Linked DNA regions of Homo sapiens: regions 1, 2, 3, 4, 5 and 7 are each linked to region 6. The links are contacts of gene promoters, found by promoter capture Hi-C in human tissues and cell types (Jung and others, 2019). All regions are on one chromosome and are shown on one strand. Each heading gives the region's core, a stretch centred on a gene start or on the middle of the fragment in contact. The rest is flanking DNA. Distances are from core to core; before and after follow the strand shown.

The links. Contacts are between HindIII fragments. The study calls those that stand out against the background at their distance.
Region 1: a fragment that was not itself captured here is called in contact with the fragment with the promoter of S1PR1 in region 6 in 1 of the 25 tissues and cell types used here (lymphoblastoid cells).
Region 2: a fragment that was not itself captured here is called in contact with the fragment with the promoter of S1PR1 in region 6 in 1 of the 25 tissues and cell types used here (lymphoblastoid cells).
Region 3: a contact is called between a fragment that was not itself captured here and the fragment with the promoter of S1PR1 in region 6, in 1 of the 25 tissues and cell types used here (liver).
Region 4: a fragment that was not itself captured here is called in contact with the fragment with the promoter of S1PR1 in region 6 in 1 of the 25 tissues and cell types used here (lymphoblastoid cells).
Region 5: a fragment that was not itself captured here is called in contact with the fragment with the promoter of S1PR1 in region 6 in 1 of the 25 tissues and cell types used here (H1 embryonic stem cells).
Region 7: a contact is called between a fragment that was not itself captured here and the fragment with the promoter of S1PR1 in region 6, in 1 of the 25 tissues and cell types used here (lymphoblastoid cells).

What each region holds. Positions count from the first base shown.
Region 1 is chr1:101,368,946-101,371,645 of GRCh38, forward strand. All of the region lies in intron 4 of LINC01307 (long intergenic non-protein coding RNA 1307), which reads left to right. Among named protein-coding and RNA genes, the nearest start is that of LINC01307, 46 kb to the left of the region's middle. RefSeq lists a silencer at 2,228-2,522 and an enhancer at 2,696-2,700. The HindIII fragment of the contact is 5,368 bases long and covers 1-2,700 here.
Region 2 is chr1:101,063,591-101,066,290 of GRCh38, forward strand. The region is part of intron 1 of DPH5-DT (DPH5 divergent transcript); the gene reads left to right. Among named protein-coding and RNA genes, the nearest start is that of DPH5-DT, 39 kb to the left of the region's middle. The HindIII fragment of the contact is 9,338 bases long and covers 1-2,700 here.
Region 3 is chr1:101,085,341-101,088,040 of GRCh38, forward strand. DPH5-DT (DPH5 divergent transcript) reads left to right here. Exons shown (of 5, transcript NR_109849.1): 5 at 1,512-2,039. Among named protein-coding and RNA genes, the nearest start is that of DPH5-DT, 61 kb to the left of the region's middle. The HindIII fragment of the contact is 4,415 bases long and covers 1-2,700 here.
Region 4 is chr1:101,428,875-101,431,574 of GRCh38, forward strand. No RefSeq gene overlaps it. Among named protein-coding and RNA genes, the nearest start is that of LINC01307, 110 kb to the left of the region's middle. The HindIII fragment of the contact is 7,567 bases long and covers 1-2,700 here.
Region 5 is chr1:100,999,646-101,002,345 of GRCh38, forward strand. It overlaps DPH5 (diphthamide biosynthesis 5), which reads right to left. Exons shown (of 8, transcript NM_015958.3): 5 at 1,822-1,942. Among named protein-coding and RNA genes, the nearest start is that of DPH5, 25 kb to the right of the region's middle. The HindIII fragment of the contact is 3,285 bases long and covers 1-2,700 here.
Region 6 is chr1:101,235,769-101,238,468 of GRCh38, forward strand. S1PR1 (sphingosine-1-phosphate receptor 1) reads left to right here and starts at 1,251. Exons shown (of 2, transcript NM_001400.5): 1 at 1,251-1,331. S1PR1-DT (S1PR1 divergent transcript) reads right to left here and starts at 760. Exons shown (of 2, transcript NR_104626.1): 1 at 557-760; 2 at 1-113. RefSeq lists an enhancer at 341-430. The HindIII fragment of the contact is 36,645 bases long and covers 1-2,700 here.
Region 7 is chr1:101,453,845-101,456,544 of GRCh38, forward strand. No RefSeq gene overlaps it. Among named protein-coding and RNA genes, the nearest start is that of LINC01307, 130 kb to the left of the region's middle. RefSeq lists an enhancer at 1-189. The HindIII fragment of the contact is 4,104 bases long and covers 1-2,700 here.

The DNA.
Region 1 (2,700 bases), core at 201-2,700, 130 kb after region 6:
TGGATATTAAAGAATGGGATGGACGTAATGTAAAGGAAACTCCAGACAGAGAGCAAATGTGAGCAAAGACTTGGAAGTAAAAACAACACGTTGAATGTAAGGAACCATAAGCATTTTTGTTATGCTAGTGGATAAAATTGAATCAGGGAATAATGAAGAGTGAGGCTGGAAAGGTAGGCAGGTGCCTTATCATGAAGAGTGTTAAAGGTAGGGTGACTGTACCATTTTTCTAAACCCAGATGCTTTTTATTTTGAGACAGAGTCTTACTCTGTCACTCAGGCTACAGTGCAGTGGCGTGACCTTGGCTCACTGCAACCTCCGCCTCCCGGGTTCAAGCAATTCTCCTGCCTCAGCCTCCTGAGTAGCTGGGACTATAGGCCTGTGCCACCACGCCTGGCTATTTTTTTTTTTTTTTGTATTTTTAATATAGAGATGCGGTTTTGCCATGTTGGCCAGGCTGGTCCTGAACTCCTGGCCTCAAGTGATCCTCCCGCCTTGGCCTTGGCCTCCCAAAGTGCTGGGATTACAGGCGTGAGCCACCGCACCCAGCCAAGACACTTTTGAGAGTGAAAGCAGTCTCACTAATAATTATCCTAGGGCAAAAATGGAAAACTAGGACCCTCTCAGGAAAACTGGGAGGCATCCTCACCCTACAATTATGACAAGTTAAAAGGCTTGGACTTTATGCTGCAGGCAATGAAAATGTATTGAAGAGTTTTGAGTTTGTGGCTGCTTGGCATCTGCATATGCTTCCTGTTCATGGAATTGGATATTCTTTGCTATAGGGATTCTTTCCTATAGGAATAGATATCCCCTCCTACAGCTATCAGGCAGGTCGGGGGCAGGCATGTGACCTGTCTCTGCCAGATAGATGCTGTGGCCCGGGACCTTAAGTTCTGAGGGAGAGAAGGGAGGAGTGTGAGCATGGTGGTGAGCTGTAGCACTGCCAGAGGTGGTGGTGTCTAGAACAAAGTTCTAAGCAGACCATTCCTGTGGCCCAGTCTTGGCTGTACCTTGTCTCCCCTGATACATGTTTGTTTCTGAGCCTGGTTCTCTAGGCTATGCATTGATTTACCTCTCTGTAATCCTTTCAGTAGAACTTTTGTTTGTAAGGTGAAGTCACAGTTGAGGCTTGTTTCAGTTGGATCACCCGGGTGGCATGGTCCTTCTGCTGTGTTCTGAGAGGAGTTGTGAAGACCATTTGCAATCATCCTCCTCTCTAAGCAAAGCATAAAGAGAACAAGACCTGCCCATGATTGTCCCTCTTAAGGCCTTGTGTAATCACAGAGAATGACAATATGCTGGAGGTGACCCCAGCTGGCCCTCCACTGCTGCTGTTGGACACATTGATAGCACAGGGCAGAGAGTGTGATGGAGGCCTGTGGGGACATTTGGCTTGAACTTTTCAAAGCCCAAATGATGCTGGCCATAAAGGAAAGGCCCTGAAGTCTCCAGGGCTATTCCTTATGTGAATAGTAAATTCTCCTCAAGAAGAGGGGATAGAAAGCTGCATTAGGTAAGTATAAATAAAGATGCCATTTTGCTCTGATCTTTAAAGGATTAGCTTAATAAGAAAAAACAGTGTATATTTTCTGAACTTGCGTTAATTAAGAAAATCACTGAAGTTGTGCTTCCCATAGTTTTCCTTGTGTTTTGTCTGTTCCCTTTGTAATCCATTAAATTTTATGGCATTAGCAGGGATTTGAAGCCCAGGATTTAATCAGTAGTCATTTCTCCTGTATCAGCACTTTTGCACAGTGCTTTGTGTATTAAGCAGTATTTTAGTGCATTGTCTGACCTTTATCTCTTGAATTGCACCACTTAATTGTAACTTCTATTTTGCCACGAGATATATATATATATATATATGATCAAAGGCTATGAATAGCACTTGTGAGTTTTTCCCAAAGGATCACAACAAAAGTCTAACGTGCAGAAATCAGAATTGTCCATGCATTTGGATCTGGGCAGATGCAGACTGGTAGTCTGTGCCCTCTGATGCTACGTAACTCTCCCCACGTCCTTTTTTTTTCCAACGTTAAATCATTTTAAATATGGTATTCAGGATTCTGGCTCACCCCTGGGTGCAATCCAAGTTTTGGACATGCTAGGCCATCAGATCTGAGGAAAATCATTCGATTGAATGGCATGCCCTGTTTTCCTACTGAAAGCTATGCTGATAATCCATTCTCCCTGTCTGACTGCCACACTGTCTTCTAGTGGCAGAAGTCTAAATCTTTAGGGACCCACTCTCTGTTTTCTCTCATGAGAACAGGGTTCCTCTCTTTGCACACAATGCTTTTCAGCATTGGAAGTGTTCAAACCCTTGTTCTCTTGGCCAGTACATCTGTGTTTGAGAGGATAGTAAGAAGCTCATTCATGTGGCCTCTGTCACCTCTCTGAGTCATATGGGAAAGCAAATCTAGGTTCACAGATTTGGCAACTGATAGGCTTAGTTTATTTCCAGAGCAGTTTCTCAGTATGAGTCATATCTGGGAGCATTTGATAGGACACCTTACTCTGAGCTCTGATGGGCAAATTTTGTTTTTGGGTGAGCCTGAAAGGTGAAGCTAATGGGTGAGCTGCAATCATAGCCTCCCTGATTCTATCTCTGCCTCTATCTCTCCTTCCTCTGACTTTGGTTCCCTTCCTTTCTTTCAAGACTGGTCTGTTCCTTTCCCTATTACATCTCTTTCAAT
Region 2 (2,700 bases), core at 66-2,565, 170 kb before region 6:
ACATTCTATGGTGCAAGCAGAAACACCTAATAAGAGTAAAGGCAAAGAGGTAGGAATGTGCAGGTCTTATTTAATTTTCTTTAATTCAACAACATATATCAAAAGCTTATTGTCTTCCGAGTATTTTTCTAATTAAAAATACAAAAATAAATATGGAATAGTCTTTACCCTCTAAGAATTTAATAATCTAGGAAATGGGAAATGACATTGACAAAACTACTACTAGATAGAGGATTTCTATGAATAGAATTTATATCATAACCTTTTATTTAAAGGTTGCCTGAGCAACACACTTTGGGTCAGAAAGATCTGGGCTTAAAATTTAGCACTGCCTCTTCTTAGCTATGTAACCTTCAGCTCCTTTGAGTTTACTTTTATCTGTGTCTATCTTCCACTGTATTTCACACATACAACCTGAAGCTCTTCATCAGCAAACTCATTCCCACCAGGTCAGAGAGAATTTCACTGCCAGCTGTACTATCAAGTAAATGGAACCTGGACTGTCTTTCCCACCATAGGCTTTGTATCACGTTGCTCCTTACCAAGGCTACATTAACCCAGTCCAGATTCCTGGGCTCCAGTTCCTGATGTCTGTCTACAGTCATTGCCATCCTGCCTCACCAGCTAAATTAACTGGCCCTGACTCTTCTCAAAACCACATCTACACTTACCATTCTTTTCAAAGTAGCTCATTGGACTACTCCAAAATATCAGGATGCTATCATTTCAGTTTTCTTCCACCTCTCACTCACGAGGTAACTGTCTCCTTTTGCCCAGGACTCGGGATTCCTGGAACTTGGGAATTTCAGTGCTAAAACTGGGAGAATCCCAGGTGAAACAGGATGAGTTAGTCATCCTAACACTAGCCTGCTTCGGGCCTCTAGCCCTTGTTTCTGAAGTGTCGACATATCTGCTGCTTAACCTAATCCAAGTTTGGCAGTCTTCTCAATTTTTTGGTGGGGACGGGGAGGTGGGATGGGGTCTCATTATGTTGCCCAGGCCAGCCTTGAACTCCTGAGTTCAAGTTATCCTCCCACTTCAACCCCCTGAGTAGCTAGGACTACAGGCGCACATCACTGCACCCAGCTACCTTCTTAATATTTTGAAGGTCAAAAGACATTCATATGACAGCTGATTCCCAAAATGTATTAGTTAGTACTGAGAATGCCAAGCCAGTTTAAAACTAAAAGCAATAGCAGGTTGCAAATTAAAACTTCTTGGTGCTCAAAAAAAATTAAGGACTTGGAACGGCAGCCAGATGGCTGGGGTGAAAGGTTTATATGATGTCATAGATAAAGCTGGTAAGTGGGTTTGACCAGGATCCCTTTTCTGTGTGTGTACACATGTGCAGATGGGCATGCACGTGTGTGTACATGAATATGAGGGAGAAAGTTAAATGCTATGAACAAATTTTGGAAAAATCAGATTGTAGAACTAAGATAATAACTGGATATAGCAAGGAAGAGCAACTTAACTAGGAAAATGGATTAATTAATAAATTATTCTCAAATTTATTTTTATCATAAATTTAAGTAAGCCCTTGGTTCCTTTTATTACGTTTCTATGATAATCTAGTATAAGAGAATACCTGATATAAATCCAAAGCAGGTGATTGGTTATTTCTAACTTAATATATCAATATTTCACAGGCAAGTCTGAGATGCATCAAATAATTGTCAGAAATAGGGAAAGAAAGATGAGTGGGCCGGGTGCAGTGGCTCATGCCTGTAATCCCAGCACTTTGGGAGGGTGAGGTGGGAGGCTCACTTGACCCCAGGAGTTCAATACCAACTTGTACAACATAGTGAGACCCTGTCTTTGTTTAAAAAAAAAAAAAAGGATAGTAGAAGCATTTATTTAGAACATTTGTGCAATTGATATTTTTAAATTAAAATGTTTTAGAAACTTTTGATATTCTTTTTCTTCACAACTTTATAATTGGTCTTGCATTTGATGACTTTAACTAAACATCAATAAACATATTACAAAATGTTTAAATAAATTTTATTTATTTAAATAAAATAAAATAAACATATTACAACCACAGATTTATTTCCATAACTGATTTTATAAAAAGTTCCCTTAAATAGTCAATGAAATGAGTTTCCTAACTTAGAGCGCTTTTTTTCCACTCAGAACTAATTAGCTATGCTTAAGACTTTCTCACAAGAATTTCTCTACAGAGGAAACAGTACTTTCACTTTGAGGCTCTCCACTAGAATAAAACTATCTATGGGAAGGATCATGTCCCCTCTACCATCCCCATTTTCATATAGGCTTTTAAATGTTCACATATAGGCTATATGTTTCATATAGGCTTTTAAATGTTTAAATCTGTTGGTGTTCACAGAACTGCCTTTTCTAATGCAATGATTTTGAGGCAAGATGATTTGGGGAGACAAAACTACAGTTTTACTAAGTAAATTTGGGCTTCTAAGTCAGTAACAAAGGGCATATCAGATATTCAAAAAAGTAAATTCTGAATGTATAAGTTCAGGGGGTTTCTATTACCATATTAGTCCTTAGCTGTTAATATACCACAATAGAGACAATTCATACTGAGTATACAGTTACAGATAAATTGATCAAATTCATTCACTCAATAAATATTTATGGGGTACTTTCTATGTTTAAGAAACATTTCTAATCACTAGGAATATTGTCAAAATATTAGCCCTGTAGAGTTTACAAAATGGCTAG
Region 3 (2,700 bases), core at 11-2,510, 150 kb before region 6:
TTAGCAAAAGAGAGATTGATGACCCATAGGCTTGAAGATGTACTGGAACTAAAGTAAGGGGCGAGGATAAATAAAAAGAGGGAGAAATTGGAGAAACAGAGTGCTTGGAAGCCCTGATGAATTTGAGGAAAAGGATGGTGATAGAGTTGACCTAGCCAGCTAGAAGAGTAGTACTTTTTAGTCAGTGAGCCCTCCATCCCATTTCTCATTAATTCTTGTAACACTTTCTCACTTCCTATATTCTGTCATATTTTATAGTTGTTTATATAATTATCTTATTCTTTATACCAATTGTAGTTTCCCTGGGTGCTTATTATGGATTAACAATTATATTATTATTAATAATATGGGTGAATGTTTACAAAGAAAGAAGTCTTTTTTGCTATTCTTATTTTATTTCTTTAATCTTTGATCAGGGGTTTTTATTTATGAATTCATCTTATATGTCACTTGACAAACACTGAATGCTGAATGCCACAGAGTACATGACACTTTAGCAGCATAAAGAAAGGCACCAAAACCAAGCAGCAAACTACATGCTACAAAACAACAATTTTTGGAATTAATGAATGAGGCTAATTTTCTGGAGTCCTCTCTCTCTTTTAAAATGTAAGAAGTGTTAGTATGGCCAGGCATGGTGGCTCATGCCTGTAATCCCGGCCCTTTGGGAGGCCGAAGTGGGCAGATCACCTGAGATCAAGAGTTTGAGACCAGCCTGGCCAACCTGGGGAAACCCTGTGTCCACTAAAAATACAAAAATTAGCCAGGCATGGTGGCACGTGCCTGTAATCCCAGCAAATTGGGAGGCTGAGGCAGGAAAATCACTTGAGCCTGGGAGGCAGAGGTTGCAGTGAGCTGAGATAGCACCACTGCACTCCAGCCTGGGCAACAGAGTGAGACTCAAAAAAAAAAAAAATGTAGGAAGCGTTAGTATGTCTAGGTCTATTCACAGGTTTGGAAGGAGAATGGGGATAGAAGACAGAGCAGAAAATTAGTGGTAGGATTCAGTAGATCAGATCTCCAGCTTCTTAGTACCTTTGATATTTAGTCCAGTTATTGAATTTCTCTTCAATTCTTCAGTCAGAACTTCTTTTCATTCCAGTGGGATTGCTTCACACTTAAGAGAATTAATGTACTTATACAAAGCCATTTTCAGAAGGGAATCACTAATATTATTATGATGTAAACAAATGATACTAGGTACTTTTCCCTTAAAGTGTCTGTTTTAAACACACATTTGTTTTTCTGCTACATCGAGTTCATTGAATCTCATTTGTATTTTCTTCGTATGTTACCTTATACAGTTATACGCAGGATGTCCCTGTTTTTTCAGTTAGCTGTTAGATAAATTCACCATACATTCGCTTTCAACCTTGTGTTTAAAAAAAATTAGTTACATGAAGTAGTCATCCACATGACATAAGAGACCTAATTTTAATAGGAAATAATATTAAAAATGTAACTCCTAGAAAATGTTAGTGATCATCATCTTCCTTTATTTTTTTTCCTAGGTACTTCCTAAGCGTGGCTACTCCAATGAAGCTTTAGTATATGTACTGAAAGAAGATCCTCTCATACTGCCACAGCCAAGAGATAAGGTTGTAAATCTTTATTGGGAGAAGCCGTCAAGGACAGTTCTGTGAAATGAAAGGATCTCTGGATCACCACAAAGTCTGGCTCAGTGACTATGGCTTTGCAAACACTAAACATTCCTGTCTCAAGTCCTGTAGATGGCTTGAAATAGTATACATAAGCATGCCTTATAAACATCTTCAGTCTTTATCAACTCTTTGGAGATTCAGCCATTCTTTTTTGTACTTTAGGGAATTAAATCATTTTATAATGTATAAATCTGAGCATGGCCGATGGCAGAAGAAATTTTGTCATACGTTTTTAAAGAAATAAAAATGTATTATGTTTTAAAATTCCTTTAACTGTTTTTCTTACAAAATTCCCAACAACTTAGTTACCAAGTAAACTATCTCAGATATGATTTTTCAGTCCTTGCTAATCTATTTATAAAATCTTTTGCTATTTTATAATCTTATTATTTGTGTCTGTCCTTAAGTGTTCATTTGTTTTTATGTCTGTGTATGTCATGTTTATTTGAGCTGTTTAATGTAAAGTAAAACAAGAACTCCCTGCATCTTATAGCATAAAAAGCAATGTTTTTCATATTCTTACCCTAATAGAAACCCTCATTCACAGAGTGATGGCTAATGCTCTACCTTTCTGCAATTCCTAGTCAGAGAACTGTCCAAGTCTCACATGACCTGCATCTTGAAGAAGAAACCTATCACGAGTTAGTTCTTAGCTATACAGGTTAACAAACTCAAATGACCCACTAACTAAATCTTGATTCTTAACAAAAACACTATGGTCTATCATCATAACAATGTCAATTTCTCACATTATCATTTTGAATCAACAATATGCCATCATATCAAAGAGAACTTATCATATTAGCATATTGAATATAAAATTACAGTGCAGCTAGTTCCAAGACCTGAATGAGTGTGGTATATAAAAAGAGCAGTGGATTAGAAATAAGGCAATCTGACGTGCTTATCTCAGTTCTGCTGATACTTGCTATGTGTATTTAAGGCTAATTATTTAAATGGGCTTTATTTAAAAAGGGAAAAGAAGTAGAGGCATGCCCATTCCTTTTAAGAATATGACCCGGAATTTCCGTGTATCATC
Region 4 (2,700 bases), core at 152-2,651, 190 kb after region 6:
ATTTTTGGCTCACTACATTTGAGGTTTCTCTGTGGCTGTATCTACTTAGGAAACTAAATGGCATAAGCAAATATAGCGTGAAAATCAGACTTAGAGCAAAAAGAATAAATGTTCTTTGGAAATGACTTTGACCAATGAATATTAGCCTGTTAAAGTCTCATTCTGTTTTCTAGATTTTTTTTTGATTACATAATTTGGATTTTTAAAAAAGAAAACTAGACTATGTTATTCACTGGACATGGCTTAGGAAACTGATAAAATAATGTCCTCTAACTTTCCTTTTTGTAGTGCCTGCATTGGCCCAAAATTCAACTCTTATTTTAGTTTTCTACCTCACTGCAATACCTTCTGAACATCTTTACAATGTCAGCATCCAATTTCACAGTGAGTACCTTTTCAATGGACTGTCTCTTAATTGCTTCTAGAATGTTTTCTAGGTGCCAAATGATCTTATTTATTTTGTGTGAATTACTTTTAGTCTCAGAGAATGTGTCCTTTTTATGTTCTTGATCTTTCTGTTTTCTAATTTTTAGGATCCAGAGTTAAGAATATAATAGAAGAGTATTTTACTCTTGGACCTTAAATGGTCACTGTCTACTCTCTAGATGAGGTATAATGCACATCTTTCTTAAAGCTGGCAGTGTATTTATATGCACATTTTACATAACCATTGCAATTATCTTATAACCCATAATCTAGACTCAAAAATGAAAGTTCATTCTGTAACCATATAAAACATTTTGTTTTAGCATATGCACTAAAAACCACAGACTTTTAAATTCTGTTCTTTTCTTTTCTAAGTGCTCTCATCTACAATAAAATCTGATTTAGGTGGTGATTTAGGAGAATGGAAACTATTAAAGTAAAACCAACCAGCAACTAAAAATATTTTATAGAGGAAAGGTAAGAATTCCTTAATGGTTTCTGATTATAAGCACCTTTAGAATAGTTCATAATGCTACATATAAAATTAAAGAATCATAGTAGTTTTCCTAAATGATTCAACAGATAGATGTTTTCTTTTAGCTTGGCAGACGGAATTTTCTTCCAGAATTCACATTTAAAACTACTTTTTTCTTTGAACAGAGTCTTGCTCTGTTGCCCAGGCTTGAGTGTAGTAGTAGCATGATCTCAGTTCACTCCAGCTGTGACCTCCTGAGTTCAAGTAATCCTCTTGCCTCAGCCTCCCAAGTAGCTGGGACCACAAGTGTGCAAGACCATGCCCGAATAATTTTACATTTTTTATAGAGATCAGGTCTCACCATGTTGCTCATCTCAAACTCCTGGGCTGAAGGGATCCTTTTGCCTTGGCCTCCCAAAGTGCTGAGATTATAGGTGTGAACCCCTGCACCCAGCCTAAAACTAAAACATTTTCTTTAACACTCAACCTGAGTTCGATCAACCATTTTGAAATCCTAAAAACAAACAACAATAACAACAAAAAAAGAAGGGCCATCAAAGTCTTATTGGGCTGACATAGCTCTAATATTGTTATAAACATGTACTATACACACACTACACATACCGTGGACACTTATACATCTTTTTTCAGATGCCCATATTTTTTTTATTTGGTTTTACTGTATAATAAAAACACTCAGGACACACAACCCCTCCCCACAATAAAACACCATTTCTCATTTTAAATGATTATATTTACAGGTGCTTTGGCCCCTAAAAAGTCATGAGTTGTTATGAACTTTATAAGAAGTAATATGTGAAAAATCCTCCAGAATATTAGTCGTTACGGTATATTCTCAAGCTCAGTGCTTCCAAATCTGGCTATCAGATTCCCTTTAAATGTTTACTTTTAAAAATGCTCTCCAGGTGATTCTGATGATCAGCTAGAAAGGGGAACAACTTCTTTTAAAATTTAATTTAATTTTAAGTTCCAGGATGCACGTGCAGGACATGCAGTTTTGTTACATAGGTAAACGTGTGCCATGGTGGTTTGCTGCATCTATTAACCCATCACCTAGGTATTAAGCTCCACATGCATTAGCTATTTATCCTGATGCTCTCCCTCTCCCCACACCTCCAACATGTCCCAGTGTGTGGGGAAAAACTTCTTAAGTCCCACTCCCAAGGAATAAACTGACTGGAGATGTCAGGACACTGTGGGATGTGTATTTGATCTAAACACGTTCCCTACTGCCTTCCTTCAGTTATAAAGTCTTATTCTTGTAAAGACAGCATCGTAACATTAATTATCTTTTCTGGTTACTCTTTATCTGTAAGTGATATATCAGATGCTGTTGAGCATTATCCAAATGTAAGGGAAGTATTATTATCACCACCTTAAGGCTAGGTTGTTGAGGTTCAGGGAGAATAACTTTCTCAAAGGAACTGTCATTGAGTAAGTCAATTCGGTTAACTTAAGGGTGATTATTAACTCACTAATGAGAGTGATCAGGAGTAACTGAAGCATCTTCAAGTCCTGTCATCAAGAGTCACCTTCCAAAATGAAAGATGCACAGGCCCTTTTATTTAAAAAGTCTTTAGAAAATTTCCACACACACACACACACACACACACACACACACACACACACACACACAGAATCATTTGTAAAAACCTGAGAACTAATGGTTTTAAAACTTTTATTCAGTAGAATAATTTATTTATGCGATTGAACAACAACTTTAAAGGATTTTCCAGACCTTATTTTCTCCAAACCTTAAATATTTTAGTTCATCCTAT
Region 5 (2,700 bases), core at 174-2,673, 240 kb before region 6:
TTGGCCAATATGGCGAAACCCCATCTTTACTAAAAATACAAAAATTAGCCGGGTGTGGTGTCAGGCACCTGTAATCCCAGTTACTCGGAAGTCTGAGGCAGGAGAATCGCTTGAACCTGGGAGGTGGAGGTTGCAGTGAGCCAAGATCACGCCACTGCAATCCAGCCTGGGCAACAAGAGCAAGGCTCCGTCTCAAAAAAATAAAAATAAAATAAAAGGCCGAGTGCAGTGGCTCACGCTTGTAATCCCAGCACTTTAGGAGGCCGAGGCGGGTGGATCATGAGGTCAGGAGATGGAGACCACCCTGGCTAACATGGTGAAACCCCATCTCTACTAAAAAAAATACAAAAAATTAGCCGGGCGTGGTGGCATGAACCTGTAGTCCTAACTACCCAGGGAGCCAAGGCAGGAGAATTGCCTGAATCCAGGAGGCAGAGGTTGCAGTGAGCCGAGACTGCACCACTGCACTCCAGCCTGGGCAACAGATTGAGACTCTGTCTTGAAAAAAAAAAAGTGGCAAACAGAAATCTTGTCTTATATTCTGAATATCTGTATTTAATATACAGAGGCCAAAATCATGGGCTTATTCTCTGCCCTGATCTTGTGCTATGTGATAGACATTTTGGTGAGTGACTTCACACACAGTTTCAGTAACACAGTACAATTCAAAGTATGATCTCAGGACCAATGCCAGTATGTGAGCTTTGTGTTGCCAGTAAATGATGAAGTAACTACAGGAGTAAGAATATGTACAAAATTTATAGTAACTTGACACTGACATAAAAGACCGAAAATTTAAAAATCAAACATATGTTTTAAACAACCCAACCATGGTTCTTTACCACAAATAGTCTGAGAAGTACTGCTCTATATAACTCCATGAAGTAGGAGGAATTATTCCTATTTGATAAATATGAAGGCTAAGGAATGTTTACAGTACTCTCTAACTAGTAAGTAGTAGCACTGGGATTTTGTCTTCTGATTCCAAGTAGAAGTATCATTGCAAAGTCATCAAAAATGTCAGTTAGCTGTGTTCTGTTTAGTCACAGATTAAGTCTTTGATACCAGTATTTCTTTCTACAACATATGCTACTAGAATAGGGGCTGATTAGCAAATGTGAATCGGTAAAATTTCAGTGCCTCTGCTAGAAAGAAAACACCATGGCTTTCTGAAACTCAGTACTATTATCTTGGAAAACAAAGACAGTGATCCCAGCTCTTTCCACACTAAAAAGGAAATAGGATTTGGGGAAGAAGGTACAGTGAAATGAGCTATTATTAAAAGGCTATCTGATTCTACCAGTTCTGCCAACAATTGACTAGGTGACATTGGGGAAATAATTCAATATTCTGGGCCTCAACTTCATCTGTAAAACAGGCCTCAATAAGATGATCTCCAGAGTCTCTTTCAGATCTATCATTGTGAATCTGATAGCATCAATACTGCAGTATTCAAAGAACCTCCCTAGGAAGATGCAGGATGGTCCTTGGTAAGGCTTGCTCAGTGCATGTCTATTGGATTGCAGTAAATCCTTGATGGACAAATGAGTAAGATATGGAATACTGGAGAGGATCTACTAGGGCAGGGCATAAGAGGGAGCAGTGTAACTATGGTGTGTATGCAGAAATAGCCATGTGGTACTTGAAGCAGAAGATGCGTGTCTCTCTAAGAGCATGGGAAAGAGTGTGGTCTGCATAGAATGGCTAGACTGTGTCTTTTCTTACCTCTAGCTAATTATCCACAGACCTTAACACAAAATCAAAATGAGAACAGTATGATAGTTCCATATTGTTACTTCAAGGAAATTCCAAAACCCTTACCTAGTAAACATAATGTGTGCATGCCATTTTGTCTGTTCTTCTTCACTTTGTCAAAGAAGCTTTCTGGTCTCCAAGTGTCTGTCCAAAAAACAATAGAAACTGTCTCTCCAAACTTATATAACTAGAAAAAAAAACATTAATTAATGATGGAACAATTAACTACTATTTCATAGATAAGGAGAGAATTTAATCATTTTACAACCAAAATAAAAAGTGAATATCCAACTCGAAATGGGTTGGGGATCAAATCTGTCACCAAAAAAGGTAACAGGAACTTCTCTTTGGTTCATGGTAGCTGGTGTCTTTCTGATGCTAGTAGTAAGTAAGTTTCAGTAATAAGTTTCTAGTATTTCTGCATTCTGTATAGGAACATGTGTAACAATTTCATAATTTAGCTATATAGTTGCTAAAAATACTGAAATGCAAAGAACCCAGGAGAAAAAAAAAAGAGTTCTGAGCAATCAGAGCGGGGTTCACAAGGTTAATATTGTTCTCATTTTACAGATGAGACCATCAAGGCTTAGAAAGAGCAACTGACTTAGCTAGTCACATAGCTAACTAATATAAAAATAAACACTTAAATCTAGCCTGAGGGAATGCTCCCTTCCATCACACTATCTCAAGAAAACAAAGCATATGCTCACTCCTGTCATTGTTCCAAACCTATAGTCCCTTAATTTGGCAAGATTGTATTTGTTCCCTCACTATAGAGTTCAGGGATGAGGGCCTTTTTCCAAACCTTCTCTTTAACCCACAAGTGGCCCACCCAGGTTCACCATCACTACAACCAAGAAGCTGGCTTCTCTGATCCAGACTGGCTGAACTAGCTCACTTAAGTGAGTCCAATTTCAAATCTTATGTGAGAAAATCTACTTTTGA
Region 6 (2,700 bases), core at 1-2,500:
TGGGTGGAAACTTTTACAACAGTAATGCAAGGGCAGAAGCGTCCTGTCCTGAGCTTGTCACGCAGGCAGATCTGACCAAGTCCGCCTCTCAGCCTCACGTTCTTAAGTAGCATCTAAGCAAAAGAAAAGGGTGGGCAAAGTGCTAGTAATGAGATTTGAGGCCTCTGAGTCGACTCCCAAGCAGAATGTGAGAGAAGGGTGCCGGCTCCTGCTGGGCAGCTGCAGTTGCTCCGCAGCTCCTGGCCGAGAATCTCCCCCTTTGGAAATTCCTGAGCTGCCCAGGCGTTTTGAATCTCTCAGGACTCAGCAGCAGCCCACCCCCTCAACGACCTCTCCATTGGCCAGAATCTGGGACACACAGCCTGACTTTGTGCTCAGCTGAGGGAAACCCCTCGCCCAACACCAAAACCGGCGCTGGTTCATTTCTCTGTGCACTCTGGGAAAGCCACTGCCCCTCAGACCGCAGTTGCGAGTAGCACGAGGATCTGGGGTGGCGGGGGGAGTACAGGAACCTCCCGGTTCATTCTCCCTCCCGGGCTGCTTGTCTCCTCCGTACCTCTCGCAGCCCCTTCCCAGCCTCTCCTCCCCAGAGCGCCGCCGACACTCGCCGGGCCGCGGCTCAGGTTTTCTGCTGCTCGCGCGAAAGTGGCTCGGGGAGCTCCTGGCCACAAGCTCAGCACACCGATCCTCCTAGGGCTGCGGGGGGTGTGGGACCAGGGCGGTGCGCTACGAGACTCCGGGCCGTCCTCTGCCTCCTCAGACTTTTCGAGAGAAAAGTTTTCAAAGTCTCTCCACCTTTTTTTTTTTTCAGGGGCTCGGGAGAATCCTCTCCACAGCCAGGGATCAGCGTCTATCTGGGCGAGGGCAGTGATTTATACAGTAGAATCCAGGGGTTACCGGGCTCCGCCCCTTCTCTCTCTCTCTTTTTTTCTTTCATTTGTTGTTTGGGGAGGAGGGGTTCTTTTTTTTTTTTTTTTTTTTTTTTTTGCTTCTGCCCCAGATCTTTCCTGGACAGTGCGTCTCAGCAGTTCAGATCCGGGGGCCCCCAGCTGACAGAGGGCGTGGGGGGTTAAGGCATTAACCCCTCCCAGCCTCTTCCTGAAGAAACCACCCAGCCTTGGCGCGGCGCTGGGTGACTTCGCGTAGCAGGCAGGGAACTGGCCGCGGCGAGCGGGACTGGCCATTGGAGTGCTCCGCTGCGGAGGGAGGGGACCCCGACTCGAGTAAGTTTGCGAGAGCACTACGCAGTCAGTCGGGGGCAGCAGCAAGATGCGAAGCGAGCCGTACAGATCCCGGGCTCTCCGAACGCAACTTCGCCCTGCTTGAGCGAGGTAGGGGGCGGCGAATGGCGGGGGTCGCGGGCGCGGGGAGCCCGGTTGTGGTAGGGCTTAGGTGTCAGAAACGAATTTTTAAGTCGAACGAGGCAAACAAAAACTTAGAAAACATGCATCTCCGGGCGCTGAAAATTTGCATCTCTGGGCTACTAAGGAGCCCATCTCGATCAGATTGTTCTTGGGCACTTGTGATTTATGGAGTTCAGAAAAAAGGTTAATTCCCAACTGTGGAACCTACGGGTGTAGGGGCAGTGAAAATTGCAGTTGGTCGGAGGAATAGGAGGGAAGGCGTTAAATTTTGGAAATCCTATAGACAAAGAATATGGTGGGTGGTGTGGAGCGTGGGTAATGGCTTAAATTAGTACTGCCCAGGAGCAGGGTATAAAATTAGTTGGGGGAAAATGCGGAGCTTCTTGGCTTGAGCAGCCTCTGCTGTTCGCGGAGTTGCTGGGATTGTTCTCATCTCTATTACCTCATTTTATTGCATTGCTGCATTACCTTGAAATATTTAAGCAACTTAGAAGTAGACTTCTGCTGACCAGTGCCGTCTTAGAAAGTTTCTTTGTAACTTTCTAGTCCTAGGAGAGGAGTCAACGTGTTGGGGGACTGCAGTAAATAAAACTGCCCACGCAAATTTAGCAATGCACCAGGGAGCAGTTTAATGTGAGTTTCTGAAGAGTAGTTTTGCAATCGAAATTAGAAATGTGGTAGCATGTATTATGGCTGTCATGAGTAGTTTGATTTCTCTCTTTTGTGTATGTTTTGGCTAAACTAAACAAAGCAAAAAATATTTATGCAATCAACTAATGTACGAAACTTCTGGGATTTGCTGCAATCTGTTATGAATGGTTTTAACTGAATACCTTTAAATTTACTTGCCCTGGCTTGGGGTGGGGGGTGGGGTGGGGGGGCGCGGGGGGAGGCGGGGAGAATAAGAAGAAGAAAGAAAAGGCAGTCGCTTCACGGAGGCGCTAAGCTTTCCTGTTTACAGCAAGGCGGGGCGGGCCTGGCTGCCCACACCTCACTGCGCCCTCGGACCCTAAGCACACCTGCTCCTAGAGAGTTATTAATAGAGCCCCCAAATGGCTTACGCTTTCAAATGATTTTCCTGCAAATCTGATTTCTTGCATGGCACATGGCAATTAGGAGGTGGTGCTAGTATCTTTGAACTGGGGGGCTGGGGGTGGGCATGGGGGACAGAGGTGTGTGTCTTCGCCCTCAGACTGGCAGTTGAGTCTTTTCCGAGGAGAGACGTGGGCTGGTATTGAGCGTGCAGCTAAGCTGGTGACTGCTTCAGAGAATCTCATGGCTGGAAATCCGGGGGTGAGGGGGTGTGGGGTGGTGAGAGGGCAGGAGTGGAGTTAAA
Region 7 (2,700 bases), core at 161-2,660, 220 kb after region 6:
AGATGGAAAGTTAATCATGTTTACAGTCTTGTACTGCAGGCTTAGTGTAGAAGTAGGAGAGATGGTGGCTTGTTGAGTTCTTTTGCACCATGTAGGAAGCAGCCAAAGGTTTTCTATGTCCTCAGGAGACACACAAAATGAGAGAAGAAGGTGGGAGGGAAGAGAAACAGAGAATATGTAGGGGTGTTCTTCCTGAAGTCACAGGAAAGAAGGCATCTCAGCAGATGCTAGTGTGGAGAGATGAGAACAACTTTCTACCCACTTCCTGCCCCAGCCCACAGCCTTGACATCCTGTAGGCTTCCCCTTCCCTATATTAAACCAATCTTGGAAAAAGGAGGAGAAAACTGTAATTGAATCGTATATGCCACCTGGTGGGATGGGGGCTAAAAATAGAAATTCCGTCTTGGTGATAGTGATGTTATATTTCTTGCATACCCAAGCTTTATTCCTCTGACATTTGTGAATATTCTTTCCCTCAAGCTCACCTCAAAGTCCTCATCTTTCAAGAAGCATTCTATTGCCTTTCCTCGGTATCACATAATTTCTGATTTATTTCCTCCCTTGCACAGTGCCGCTGGACTAAGAGAAAGAACATGCAGATTCTAGTTTCAGCTCTCATTTGCTGAATGTCTGATGGAGAACAACTCACTATCTCTGGGTCTCCATTTGCTTTTATGTAAAACAGTATGTCAGAGGAGGTTGTGAGTTAAAGCTGAATAATGGATGAGGAAGTGTTTTTATTATTTTTATTTTTTGAGACAATGTCTCTGTTGACCAGGCTGGAGTGAAGTGGCGTGATCTCAGCTCACTGCAACTTCCTCCTCTGGGGTTCAAGCTATTCTCCTGCCTCAGCCTCCCGAGTGGCTGGGATTACAGGCCTACCCCACCATGCCCAGTTAATTTTGTATTTTTAGTAGAGATGGGGTTTCACCATGTTGGCCAGGCTGGTCTTGGACTCTTAACCTCAAGTGATCCGCCCCCCTCAGCCTCCCAAAGTGCTGGGATTAGAGGCATGAGCCACCACACCTGGCCGAGGAAGTGTTTTGAGGACAAGAAAGTTTCAAATGCATGTAAAGTGGGATTATGGCTGCAACTCTTTTACCCTGGCTGCAATATTCCTAGCTGGGAATGTGATTTTGGTATCATTTATATATTTAAATTAGGCATGAACTACATTTCAGGATCTCTATTCCCACTCATTGAGAGGTTGAGGAAAATCCAAGAATCGAATCCCTTCTCAGTTAAGAAGTAAGTTAGCACAGACCACTTTATCCCTCAAAGAGGGAGAGAAAATAATTCCAAGAAGCTTCTTTGTTCTAAAACTTCATCTGCTCCTCCTAAAGACGATTCCTATAAGGAGAACCTCCCAACAGCTGATCTCCAGCAGGATATTTTATGTCATCTATAGTTCTTGACCCATTAACCCTTCAGATGCCTTCTGTGTCAGGAATTCGGACAGCTTCATGCTCCCAGCTGCACACCTGCCAGGGCAGAACAAAACAAAACAGGTGTACAGCTGAGTCCCCTGGTGGCAGATACAGTTTCTTCTCTTTTTCAAAAGTTTTTAAGGTTGGCCTAAGGTAGCAGGACTGTAACATAATAACACACGCACTCATTTACTTGTCCTTTCAATTTCCATTTTGCCCCCGGAGATTGCCCTGCAGGACTTAGCTAATGCCCAATTCATTACTTTAGCAAACATGAATTGAAAACCTATTATGTGCCAGCTGTGGGGGACAAAGGGATCTATGAGATGTGGATCCAGCCCATGTGACCTTAGAACCTAAAGGGAGAGGTGACTAGCTAAGCTGTAAAATAAGTCCTGCTCAGTCTAGGTGGCTCACACCTGTAATCCCAGCACTTTGGGAGGCTGAGGCAGGAAGATTGCTTGAGCCCAGGAGTTCGAGGCCAGCCTGGGCAACATAGTGAGACCCCATCTCTACAAAATATACAAAAATTAACTGGGTGTGGTAGGGCGCACCTGTAGTCCTAGCTACTTGGGAGGCAGGAGGATTGCTTGAGTCCAGGAGGTTGATGATGCAGTGAACCATAATCATGCCACTGCACTCCAGCCTGGGCGACAGAGTGTGACCCTTTCTCAAAAAAATAAAATAAAATTGTATAAAATTACCTTCAGGATAGATGTATAAGGTATGTGAGAAACACAAATAAATCCCCAACATATTTCATTATGTATATGCAAATATTTTAACATACAACAAGTAAAAAATTGAAAACACTTTCTATCCCAAGCATTTAAGATAAGGTATACTCTACCTGTACTGGAAATATCAGACACAGACTATGAGACAACTATGATTACTACTCAGGAAGTAAGCATCAAGTATAAAAATGGTGATAGATAACTGTACATTCTAAAGACTAATAGCACATATACAGTATGAATTCTAGACCTAATTTCAATAATTAAAGAACACAGTGAATGAGTGTAATAGTAGATTAGATAGAACTGATGAGAAAATTAGTGCACTGGATGGTGTGGCAGAAGAAATTTGTTATGATGAAGTACAGAGAGGGCAATTTGTGAAAAATATTGAGGAATAGGTCATTGATATAGAGGACACAGTGAAAAGTTTAGCTGGATTTCAAGCAGGAAAGGAGAGAGAGAAAATGTGGCAGATAGAATATCTGAAGAACCAATGACAGAATTTTCTGCAACTGATGAAATACAAAGATTC